3 separate regions of the Homo sapiens genome follow, and regions 1 and 3 are each linked to region 2. The links are contacts of gene promoters, found by promoter capture Hi-C in blood cells and fetal thymus (Javierre and others, 2016). All regions are on one chromosome and are shown on one strand. The core of a region is centred on a gene start or on the middle of the fragment in contact, and the rest is flanking DNA. Distances in the headings are between cores, read along the strand shown.

The links. The method cuts DNA at HindIII sites, captures the fragments that hold promoters and counts their contacts. A CHiCAGO score of 5 or more calls a contact.
Region 1: a fragment that was not itself captured here is called in contact with the fragment with the promoter of GGA2 in region 2 in 1 of 17 cell types (total B cells); the score reaches 5.9 in total B cells.
Region 3: a contact is called between a fragment that was not itself captured here and the fragment with the promoter of GGA2 in region 2, in 2 of 17 cell types (total B cells and M0 macrophages). The highest score is 6.1, in total B cells.

Annotation. Positions count from the first base shown.
Region 1 is chr16:21,643,295-21,647,259 of GRCh38, forward strand. The region is part of intron 4 of METTL9 (methyltransferase 9, His-X-His N1(pi)-histidine); the gene reads left to right. IGSF6 (immunoglobulin superfamily member 6) reads right to left here. Exons shown (of 6, transcript NM_005849.4): 2 at 3,839-3,965; 3 at 996-1,102; 4 at 254-304. It overlaps LOC124903663 (a long non-coding RNA gene), which reads left to right and starts at 1,102. Exons shown (of 2, transcript XR_007065025.1): 1 at 1,102-1,882; 2 at 3,638-3,965. RefSeq lists an enhancer at 2,252-2,431. The HindIII fragment of the contact is 562 bases long and covers 2,280-2,841 here.
Region 2 is chr16:23,508,052-23,511,914 of GRCh38, forward strand. GGA2 (golgi associated, gamma adaptin ear containing, ARF binding protein 2) reads right to left here and starts at 2,443. Exons shown (of 17, transcript NM_015044.4): 1 at 2,270-2,443. The coding sequence starts at 2,360. RefSeq lists silencers at 2,130-2,299, 2,370-2,599, 2,670-2,719. The HindIII fragment of the contact is 8,010 bases long and covers 1,595-3,863 here.
Region 3 is chr16:24,540,316-24,543,966 of GRCh38, forward strand. It overlaps RBBP6 (RB binding protein 6, ubiquitin ligase), which reads left to right. Exons shown (of 18, transcript NM_006910.5): 1 at 1-477. The coding sequence starts at 312. Among named protein-coding and RNA genes, the nearest start is that of RBBP6, 2.6 kb to the left of the region's middle. RefSeq lists an enhancer at 1-901. The HindIII fragment of the contact is 1,467 bases long and covers 1,167-2,633 here.

The sequences.
Region 1 (3,965 bases), core at 1,311-3,810, 1.9 Mb before region 2:
ACTCTTTTGTATTTGAGAACTTTAAATATAATTTATGGTTGAGAACTGTCCAATTTAAGTCACAGTTTACCCCTTGAGATTATTTTGTCATTGAGTTTCTCAACAATAGGAAATAGTGTCTGCAGTTGAAAGTTACCTTGATATTCTGTTTAAACTTAACATTTAAATATTTAAAAGCTAAAAAATATTTCAGTTTTGAAATCGTTACAACCAGCCACAATTTAAAAAATATTTTTCAAGTGTTGGTCTGTACCTTTTGTGAGTCTTCTTTTATTTCTTTGTTTCTTAGAGGGTTGGATTTTGACTGCCAAGAAGAGAAGGAAAGTCTATGAAACATTTTATGTACTCATAACAATGGTGGCAGATATCTCATGCCCTAATAAGATTAAACTAACTTAATATTTAAGTGATATACAATGAGACTTAATTTTTACATCATTTTTGAGATGCTTTTACTCCATTAAAAACTAATTGAACAAACTGACGTTGATTGTAGGATTTATAGTAATCCTAACACAATGGTATACATCTCCCTTCTTATACACATAGCCAAAAGGTATTCTTTTTTAATAACTTTAGCCCTTTTTGAAGATTTTAAGGCGGCTTTTAGTTTCTTCATCAACCCATTTTTGTTCTTAAAGACTGTTCTTAAGGCTTTCGTAGATAACAGTAATATCTCGCCCTCCACCTGCCCACACCTCACCCCTACAGCAGAAAGATAGCATAGTGGATGGCTCTCTTCTTAATCCCATGCTACTGGGCTTTAAAGAGAAAACAGCAAACTATGTCCCCTGGCTAATAATTTCAGTGATGAGAATGTATGATGCCTTCTTCCAAAGACCTCTTCTGCAGGTGGTGTTCCCTGCAGATGCACAGGAAAATGTTAATTAGGGAGCTCTTGCTGAGGCCCATAACTTGTGGAGAGATAGAAATTATTTTTCTTTTGATAATATTCAAGGATATAGGGACATTCCATGCAAGAGGATTTGACTTACTTTGGAGAGGAGTATGAAGGCCACGCACACACCGGTCACATAGACAGAGAGCAGTGATACAAGAGCTGTCAGGAAGCTCCGCAGTTCCTTGCTGAGCAGCTTAATTTCTTAATGACAAAAACAGAAAGAAGCACATTGACTATTAAAGCCTATTCTTTCAAATACATGTGTAAAGTATCCTTCACACTGCGTTTTAGAGGTGAAACGTGAACTTACTCTGCTTGCCTATTCGTATAAAAACTAGACCTCAAAAGGTACTCAAGTATGTAATAGTTAAAGCCAGTTCATCAGTTCTTTAAATGTGTTAAACCAAAAATGTTACTCGTTTTTAAACATTAAAAAAATTCAACCAACCATTTGTCATATTGCTAAGCATCACTTTTTAGATAAAGGATTATTTGAAGTTAGATAAACATTTCCAGACAGTTTGTTCAAGGGCATCTAAAATCTCTTTTGGTAGAAACGGTTTACCAGTATCATCAAGAGTCTGCCTATGTGGTTAAGATATTTTCATATGTATTTGTTAAGGGTGATATTTATAGCCTTGGAACTAGTACACATAGCTGAAGAGTCCCATCTGTGAAAGAACCTGGGAAGGCCATACATTGAGGAGCGCAGTGCTCACTGCGTGCTTGAAAGACAGGCACTTTTGCCAAATGTGCTCTTCTTTCTTTATGATAAAATTCTGGAAATAGAGTTATTGAATCCATTTTCACATTCGGAATTTCTCTCTCCTTGCAGAAATTGTCTTGTGCTCTGGGTAGGGATTAAGTAACATGCCATGTCTTCAATTACCTGACTATTTGGAGTACAAAATACAATTAGATTTGTACTTACTGTCTGAATAGCCTGTACTTTCCAACTAAATATCCCATAGATGAGACTGAGTGTGATGGCTCATGCCTGTAATCCCAGCACTTTGAGAGGCCGAGGTGGGCAGATCACTTGAGATCAGGAGTTTGACACCAGCCTGGCCAACATGGCGAAACCCCATCTCTACTAAAAATACCAAAATTAGCTGGGCGTGGTCGCACATGCCTGTAATCCCAGCTACTCAGGAGGTTGAGGCAGGAGAATCGCTTGAACCCGGAAGGTGGAGGTTGGTTGCAGTGAGCTGAGATCACGCCACGGCACTCCAGCCCGGGCGACAGAGCAAGACTCTTGTCTTAAAAAAAAAGAAAGAAAAATCCCATAGATGCTTATCCTGTGAATGCAGTTTATGCAGCATACATTTTTATTTGTGAAACTAACAAATTAACCACATCTATACAACTAAAATAAAAAAGCTTCAGTGTGAAAATAGGAGTTCTGTAGAAGAGACAGGAAGTTGCCATGTCTGCCTTAACACTTTCAATTCTGCCTTTCACTTTCACTTCACTTTATATAAGCCTTGCAGCTTTGAGACCTTCATCTTTTTACAAGCCATTTTTCCCTTTGACTAACATGTTTTTAGAAGGCTAATGCAGTGAGACATACAAATCTCTAAAGCTGTGTGTGTTTTCATATCAGTAGCTAACATTTGTTATTTGCTATATGCCAGGCACTATTAAAAATGCTTTAAGTGCCTTAACTTATTTATAATTTAGCTGACAGATGAGAATAAACTAAGGTTAAATGACATTTGAATATCAAAAGCCCATTAGAACCCTCGTAGTTTAAAAGCACAGGTTATAATACTGGATGGTCTCCCTTCCTCAGAGTCCTATTTTGAAATCGAAGGGCTGGTTGATTTTGAGTTCATGTTTTAACAATCTCTGCTCATCATACCAGGGTCCTTCCTAAGGGAAGAGACCCCAACAAGGCGAGGAGTTGCTGCTGTTCTCTTTTTTCCTTCAGAATCATGTAAAGCTTTTTCTCTGAAATTCCCCCTTTTTTTTTCTCGGGAATGTCTTAATCTCAGTTTACTCAAGGGAATGACTTGGTGAAATTACTGATAGGATTTAGCTATGTTTGATGTCCTCGCTCGGCTGAGGAATTGTCATGGGTTTTATCAAATCTCAGGAAGTGAGAGTCATCACTTTCCGTTCACTGATGTCCAGGCAGAATGGGAAGGGTCAGGGATCCCTGAGTAGCTTCTCTCCAAATCTGTGCTTATTCTCCATGTTGCATAGTTTCTGTGGGTCCAATTTATTGATCTTTTACACTTCTCTAGTGCTTTGTTCTAGGTGGTGCATTACCAGACTAGTTCCTGAGAAAGCTGATAGTTACTCACCACAAGGTTCCCTTTGGACATGGTACTTTACACTAAATCACTGTAATATACAAAAGAGGTGAACATGGTTGGTTAAACATCACCATGTAGGGAGAATAGAGCACCCAGCAAATCACTGACTTTGTGTTAGTGGATGTTCGAGATGGATTGGAGTAGTTCTTTTGTTTTTCTGAGATGGAGTCTTGCTTTGTTGCCCAGACTGGAGTGCAGTAGTGCGATCTCGGTTCACTGCAACCTTCGCCTCCTGGGTTACAAGCGATTCTCCTGCCTCAACCTCCCAAGCAGCTGGGACTACAGGTGCATGCCACCATGCGCGGCTAATTTTTGTATTTTGAGTAGAGATGGGGTTTCACCATGTTGGCCAGGCTAGTCTTGAACTCCTGACCTCAAGTGATTCGTCCACCTCAGCCTCAAAGTGCTGGGATTACAGGTGTGAGCCACCACGCCCAGCCAGTTGGAGTAGTTCTTTAGTCCAAACCTCATGGTGACTTGTGTTCAGATCACACCCATCACTGGCTAGGGTATTAACTTAGCAAATTTATCTCCTGATTTCTACATGTGAGTGAGGTAATGATTTTACAGGCCTGAACAAGATGCAATGATGCACTGAAATAAAGCCTCGCTGACTGACCTCTTACCACCAGTGTGGTCCCTCCTCCTGTCTGTTTAGCTCTCGCTTCCGGCACACTGGGGAATGCTATTCCACAGATGTAAATTGCACTGTCATTTGAAGTCACTCTGTTTACAGTGAGGGAAAC
Region 2 (3,863 bases), core at 1,193-3,692:
TACTCCGGCTACTTTTTTTTTTTTTTTTTGAGACAGAATCTCGCCTTGTCACCTAGGCTGGAGTGCAGCGGTGCAATCTTGGCTCCACCTCCACAACCTCTGCCCCAAGGGTTCAAGTGATCCTCCCACCTCGGCCTCCCAAGTAGCTGGAATTACAGGTGTGCGCCACCACACATGGCTATTTTTTGTATTTTAGTAGAGACGGGGTTTCACCATGTTGGCCAGGCTGGTCTTAAACTCCTGGCCTCAAAGGATTGGCCCACCTCAGCCTCCCAAAGTGCTGCGATTACAGGCATGAACAGCCTTTTTTTCTAATTTTTGCAACTCCAGTCTAAGCCTTCTGTTCTCCATTGCCTCCTAAAACTACTACCTTCTGTCTCTACTGTTTAACTCAAGGATGTCTCATTAAATAACTGGTTGGTTACCAAATTCAAAGTTCTCTCTTCTCCTTCCTCATTCTCCTCCATCTTTAAGGAGCAAAACTACGTTACAACCACATCCCTCCTTTGCTATCAGTGGGTGCCCCTGCAGGTCTCCCCCTGCCTGTTTCTGCTCAGCCTTCAGTCTTCTCTTCCCATCTGCCTCTTCAATGCTGGGGCTCCCCACGCTCTCTTTCCAAACCTCTGCTCTTAATATACGCAAGCTTCTCCCGCAAGCTCACTGCCAATGAACCAGACTCCCAAACCGTACGTCCCACACTTGCCCTCTCCAGTGCCAACCAGCTGCCTAGAGGGCATCTCTTTTTTGACTATGCCACAAGCACCTCAAACTCCACATCTCAACCTTCTCTGCCTAAACCAGCTCCTCCTCACAGGGGAGGCATCTGTAACCCACCAGTTCCTCGAGCCTGAAACCCGCGATCTAGCCTAGATTTCTCCTTGTCCCCTGTCTGCATTCCAAGGCACCGAGGCTGCTGACTACGCCTGCTCATTGCTTCTCCCTCTCCCCACTGCCTTAGTCCTCCTGCGGCCCCCAACCACCACCAAAAGAGCTTTTTAGCCGCTCTCCCTGCCTGAAGTCTCACCCTCTCCGCCCAATTTAGCACCATATGGCTGCAAGTGACGCCTTTAACAGGCTTCCTTGATCAGATTCTCCGGCTGAAAACTCCCAAACAGCAACCCCGCCCTCGGATAAAACATAAACTCCTTTCTGCAGCACACAAGGCTCTTGAAGATCTCGCCCCAATTAGCCGTGCAGCCCCTTTCCCGGATTCCTGAGCTTTAGGCTTGCACTCCAGCGGACTGACCTACTTGTTCCCGGAGTGCTCCACATTCTCTTGTCCCCAGCTTTTGCACACGCAGTTTCTTCTGCCTGGAATGCGGTCGGCTGTGACGACCCCCAGGTAAACCAACTCCTACCACCACAGGTGAAACGAACGCCCTCCTCCTCCTCGCCAATCCCGTTAGTAAGGTGATGTGACTGCCGGCTTGTACCCACTAAAAAATGTTTTGGTGAGCAAGGACCCTGTGTTATGCATCTCAGTGTTCCTGGCACCTAGCAGAGCTGGGTACAAGGGGAATATTCTTTATCCCCTTTGAACCTCAATCCCTCATTGGTAAAACGGAGATAATAATAACCCCTAAGATGACTGTGAAGCTTACAGGAGACATGCAGAAGAATTCTGGCCAAAGGGTTTGAGCCCAACCAGGGTAACATAATGAGACCCCGTCTCTTAAAGGAAAAAAAAAACACACATATATATATATACGCACACACACACACACGTGTGTGTGTGTTTAAAAAAAAAAGTCTGGCCAAAGTAAACACAAAAGGTAAAAAATTTCTTTTTGACGCGGTAGCCAGATAGAGATCTTTCTCAGCCCCAAACAGACTGCATGTCTTGCACGACTGCGTCTCCTTAAGCCTCAAGGTCCCCGCTTCCGTAGTGGGGTTAATAATAGAAGCCAGCTCGGGGTGGGAATGAGGATTAAGCAGGACTAAGCCGCTGTGAGCACAGTGCCTGGCGCAGGGGAAAGCGCAGGTCACGTAGCCATTGGGGTGGGGGTCGGGGTCCTGTGCTGCTGCTAAGTTGGGGGGTGGGCGGAGGGGGAGGGGCAGAGCTCAGAAGGGGGCCGCTGCCCCGGCGGATGCTTGGGGCTCCTCTCGGGGGACCCCTGGGCGATCTTCCCCACCGCGCCGGGCCCAGGCCCCCTACCCGGCCGCCGGCCTCCCCTGCGGCCGCCCGCCCCGAAGCAAGGCCCCGGGAGGCGGGAAGCGAGGCCTCACGTGCGGCGCAGCGGCTGCGCCGAAGGCCTGCCAGGCTACTCACTGAGCCACAGCTCCAGCGACGCTGCCGGGCCCGGGGGACCCTGGGCCGACTCGGTTCCCGCCACAGCCGCCGCCACCGCGGTCGCCGCCATCGCTCCAGCCCCGACGCTGCGGCCGCGGGCGCCACTGCCTCTTCAGCCGCTGTAGCGTCCTGGCGCTCTCCTCTGCTGACTGCGCGGCAGGAGCGGTGGACACGTGACGGGGCGGGGCCGCTGGCGCCACGCCCACCCCAGGCCCCCCCTCCACGCGGGACCGGCCGGAACATTTCTTAGTCCAGATCCCTCCACCCAGCGCTGGTCTTCTAAGACCACTCACCGTACGGTTGCCAGATAAAATACAAGACGCCCAGTTAAATTTGATTTTCAGAAGAACACGAATAATTCTTTTAGCATTTTTATTTTTTAAGAGACGGGGTCTTGCTCTGTCACTCAGGCTGGAGTCCAATGGCGCGATCACGGCTCACTGCAGCCTCCACCTCCTAGGCTCAAGCGATCCTCCCGCTTCAGTCTCCGGAGGAGCTGGGACTAGGGGAGGGCACCACCACGCCTGGCGTGTGTGTGTGTGTGTGTTAGAGACTGGGTTTCACCGTGTGTGTGTGTGTGTGTGTGTGTGTGTGTGTGTGTGTGTGTTAGAGACTGGGTTTCACCATGTTGCCCGGGTGGTCTCGAACTCCTGGTGTTAGAGACTGGGTTTCACCGTGTGTGTGTGTGTGTGTGTGTGTGTGTGTGTGTTAGAGACTGGGTTTCACCATGTTGCCCGGGTGGTCTCGAACTCCTGGGCTACAAGATCCTCTTACCTCGACTTCCCAAAGTGCTTGCATTTATTTTTTATTTTTCTTTTTTTCTTTTTTTGAGACGGAGTCTCACTCTGTCGCCTAGGCTGGAGTGCAGGGGTGCCATCTCGGCTCACTGCAACCTCCACTTCCTGGGTTCAAGCGATTCTCCTGCCTCAGCGTCCCGAGTAGCTGGGACTACAGGTGCATGCCACCACACCCAGCTATTTTTTTTTTTTTTGTATTTTTAGTAGAAACGAGGGTTCACTATGTTGGCCAGGCTGGTCTCGAACTCCTGACCTCGTGATCTGCCCGCTTCGCCCTCCCAAAGTGCTGGGATTACAGGGGTGAGCCACCACGCCCGGCCTATGTGCTTGCATTTTTATTCACAGAAGGGTTTTCCTGGAACACTTTTTTTTTTTTTCAGATGGAGTCTCGCTCTGTCGCCCAGGCTGGAGTGCAGTGGTGCTATCTCGGCTCATTGCAACCTCCACCTCCCTGGTTTCCTGGAACACTTCTAAACTAACATGTCCTGCATTCCTCAATACTCTGCTTTATTTTCTGCATCACACAGTACACCATCGATGTATTATTTACTTGCTTATTCTGTTAAAAGATAATTTTCCCAAAAAAGTATGTCATGATTATCATAATTATGAAATGAATACGTGTTAAATATTTTATTTAATTACATGAGGGAACCAAGCAGATGTTATAATCAATCCAAAAGTGAAGTCAAAGAAGGGCAAATTTATCTGGAAAAAAAGGAAGATAAGACGAATGTGCAAATGGAGGCAAAACTGGCTTTTCGACCGGGGTGAGA
Region 3 (3,651 bases), core at 650-3,149, 1.0 Mb after region 2:
CGGCCCCTTAGCATGAGCGAGGGGGACCCAGCCGGGTGACATTGTGCCCGTTGGCGGATTCTCGATTTCCCCTCTTCCCCGTCCTCGTCCTCCTCCTCCCCCATGAAGTGATTCTGAGTATCGGGGGGTCTCTGGATTATTGTTCTGACGAACCCCTGCTTGTGGTTGGGGGGTATTTAATCTGAGGCCTTAGGGTCCTTCGGTGTCTTTGAGTGTTTTGTGTGTACATATTTTGCTCTTAAAGTTTATAAATATACGTATATTGAGAGTGTCCACGTCTCCTCGCTGAACCTTAGGAATCCCTTGGCACCATGTCCTGTGTGCATTATAAATTTTCCTCTAAACTCAACTATGATACCGTCACCTTTGATGGGCTCCACATCTCCCTCTGCGACTTAAAGAAGCAGATTATGGGGAGAGAGAAGCTGAAAGCTGCCGACTGCGACCTGCAGATCACCAATGCGCAGACGAAAGAAGGTAAGGGCCGCTTGGTCTTAAGATATTTGGTGGCTGGAGAGAGATACTAGCTAGAAGGTGCCTGGCAGGAAGCTAACCGCCATTATGTCTCTAGTGGGGACTGTTCGTTCTAGTACTTTGGATACAACTTTCATTGATAGCCAAGGTTTGCAGCAGTTGGCCTTGGAGTTTCACTGGTTTATTTTATTTCTGCATACTTGGGTCATCTGTAACAGGCTAACCCAAAACGTGGAAGCCTGATTATTCTTCTCGCTGTTTTTTAAAATGAGGGAGGGAGGAGAGGGGGATAGCTATCTAGACTCTTTGAGTGCTTGTCTTAGGGCGTTTTCTAACTTATTTTCCATCAGGAGGGCAGGAGAGCCTGTGCAAAGCTTGTTTGTTCAATCAGCAAAAAAAAAAACAAAAAAAAAACCAAAAAAACAATTTTCTAACCTAACAACATTGTGGAGTTTGATGGCAAATTTTATGTCCTGCCTTCCTCCCTCCTCGCATTTATTTATTTGGAGTTGCTTGCCTGTGTTGTGGATAAGGGATCTGAACTTTAATATTTTTGAGGATTTAATCAGTATTGGAATTGTTTTTGGATCTTGAAATGTTCTGATGTCACCGCTCTTGTCTTGTGTGTCAATTCCAGAATTAGTAATACGGCAATTAAGTAGTTAAACTGTTAGTTCATCACATTACTCTTAAGCTTTATCAATTCGGTGAAGATCAAAAGTACTGATTTTTTTTAAAGTAGTAGTTGCTAGATTTTACGTGACTGTTGATACTAAGGTACTGAAAAATAGGCTGCTACCATAGAGTACAAATAAGCCACTGATAAGAATCGTTAGATTCTTTCTCCTTTTCAAAAGTATTTTGATAATATTGGGAACTTAACAGTAGATAAATGTGACAAGCAGTCTTTCCTGACTCTGAACTTGTTTTGGTTTCTTTTTCTCAGATCAGTAATGCTGATGTGTATTTTTTAGCAGTTCGGTGTTCTAAAAGTTACTGATGGAATGAGAAGAAGTGAAGTTACAATTAGGTTAGGGTATTTTTTTAGTCACTAAATTTTTATCACACTTAAGGTGTGACATGGATTCTTTTAGTTGAAATGGGAGGTCCCCCACCTCCAGCCTGTAGTTTAGGTAGAGTAAATCTTGTCATGTAGAAGACCAGTTTTCCATTTACAATGCAGACCTAAGTATAATTGTATTAGGTTAAGGAACAGCAGTGCTGGCATATCATGACTCAAAAATATTAAGGAAGAATTTATTTGCTCAAATGATATTATGTGAAAATACTGTCTGCTTCCCCACCTTTTAAAAACAAGTGTCATACCCTTTGATAATTGGAGCTATGTGTAATCCTCTGCCTAAGGAGAGGAAAAACTGGTGGTGGTCATGAACAGTTGAGAAATAGCTTTATTTAAGTGCCTCACAAGCATCCCTTAACTACAACAGTCACATTTCACAGAACAGATGGGTTTATAAGAAGTTTGGGCCATCTTGACATATTGAGTATTTATGAATGAGAGGAGAGACAATATGAATGGAATTAAAGGATATTAAGGCAATTTTAATCGTCATATATTCAGGTTTCATATTTTACTGGAGTATTACACAATCGAATCATTAGGGCTAGGCGTTATCCATCTTTTCGACCCAACAATTGAATGCAGCTTTTTTTTTTTTTTTCCCCTGAAACAGAGTCTCACTCTGTCACCCAGGCTGGAGTGCAGTGGCACCATCTTAGCTCACTGCAACCTCCGCCTCCCTGGTTTGAGCGATTCTCATGCCTCAGCCTCCCAAGTAGCTGGGACTACAGGCATGCGCCACTACACCCAGCTAATTTTTTTTTGTATTTTTAGTAGAGATGGGGTTTTGTCTTGCTGGCCAGGCTGGTCTCGAACTCTTGGCCTCAAGTGATCCACCCACCTGGGTCTCCCAAAGGGCTGGGATTACAGGCATGTGAATGCAACTTTAGACTGGGTAAGTTATAGTTAAAAGAATCCTGTCCGGAAATTTAAGAGTTTTGTGACTTTGTGTAACCAATTTTTTTTTCCTAGCCCAGGAAATAAATGATACGTAATTCAAACCCAGAAAGCCAGGAATGTGTTTTTGCCCAGCACATTTTCTTTTTTATATTTATGTGAACTGCCCTTTATTGGAGAAAGCTTTGATGTTCGGTTTGTTAAGAAAAGGGAGCTTTGAGGGAGAAAATGTGTATTTTATGCAGTCCTCAAATTAAGAGAGAAAGAGATATTGATGGTAGCTACTTAACTAGTTTTATGGGAAATAGTATCCAATGTCACAAGGCAGTTGAGTAGAATGCCATTTGGTTTTAGCACCGATATTCAACATATTTACTAAAGAAAACTATGGTAATCTTTTTATCACAGTTAAGGTCCAGTTTCTTAATTTCATTCTTATAATTTTAAAATCCCTAATCTACCATGTTTCTGTAAAACATTTCCTTACAGTTTTGGAATTATGTGCATGTTTAGGTCCCTTAAATCTTTTTTTTTTTTTTTTTTGGAGACACATCCTCACAGGCTAGAGTATAATGGCACAATTTTGGCTCATTGCAGCTTCAACCTACCAGGCCCAGGTGATCCTCCCACCTCAGCCTCCCAAGTAGCTGGACTACAGCCACACACCACCATGCCTGGCTAATTTATTGTAATTTTTTTTTATTTTATTTTGGTAGAGATGGGGATTTTGCCATGTTGCCCAGGCTGGTCTCCTGAGCCCAAGTGTTCTCCTGCCTTGGCCTCCCAAGGCCATCCCAAAGTGCTGGGATTATAGGCTTGAGCCACTGTGCCTGGCATAGGACCCTTAAATCTTGATAAGACTGAAACGCTTGGGTCAGAATTCCATGGATTTTAGACAAGAATCCTGCTTGTTTCTAGACTGTATTTCAAAATGAATATCAAGTAATCTTTGTTATATATGAGAAACTTTTCTGCACACCGACCCCTAAAAAACAAAACATCCTTCGTTCTGAAATTAAAGTGTGAGAGGTTTGGAAGCTGAATATGAAGTGTTTATAAATGACCCTTGTCACCTTTCTTACTCTCCATTTCTCGGATTCATTCTGTTTTTCATTTCATCCATGCCTTTCATGTCTGGGGTCAAAAAAACTGGCAAGCAGAAAGGGTCTTTTGAAGCCAACAGACTACTTGTTAAGGAG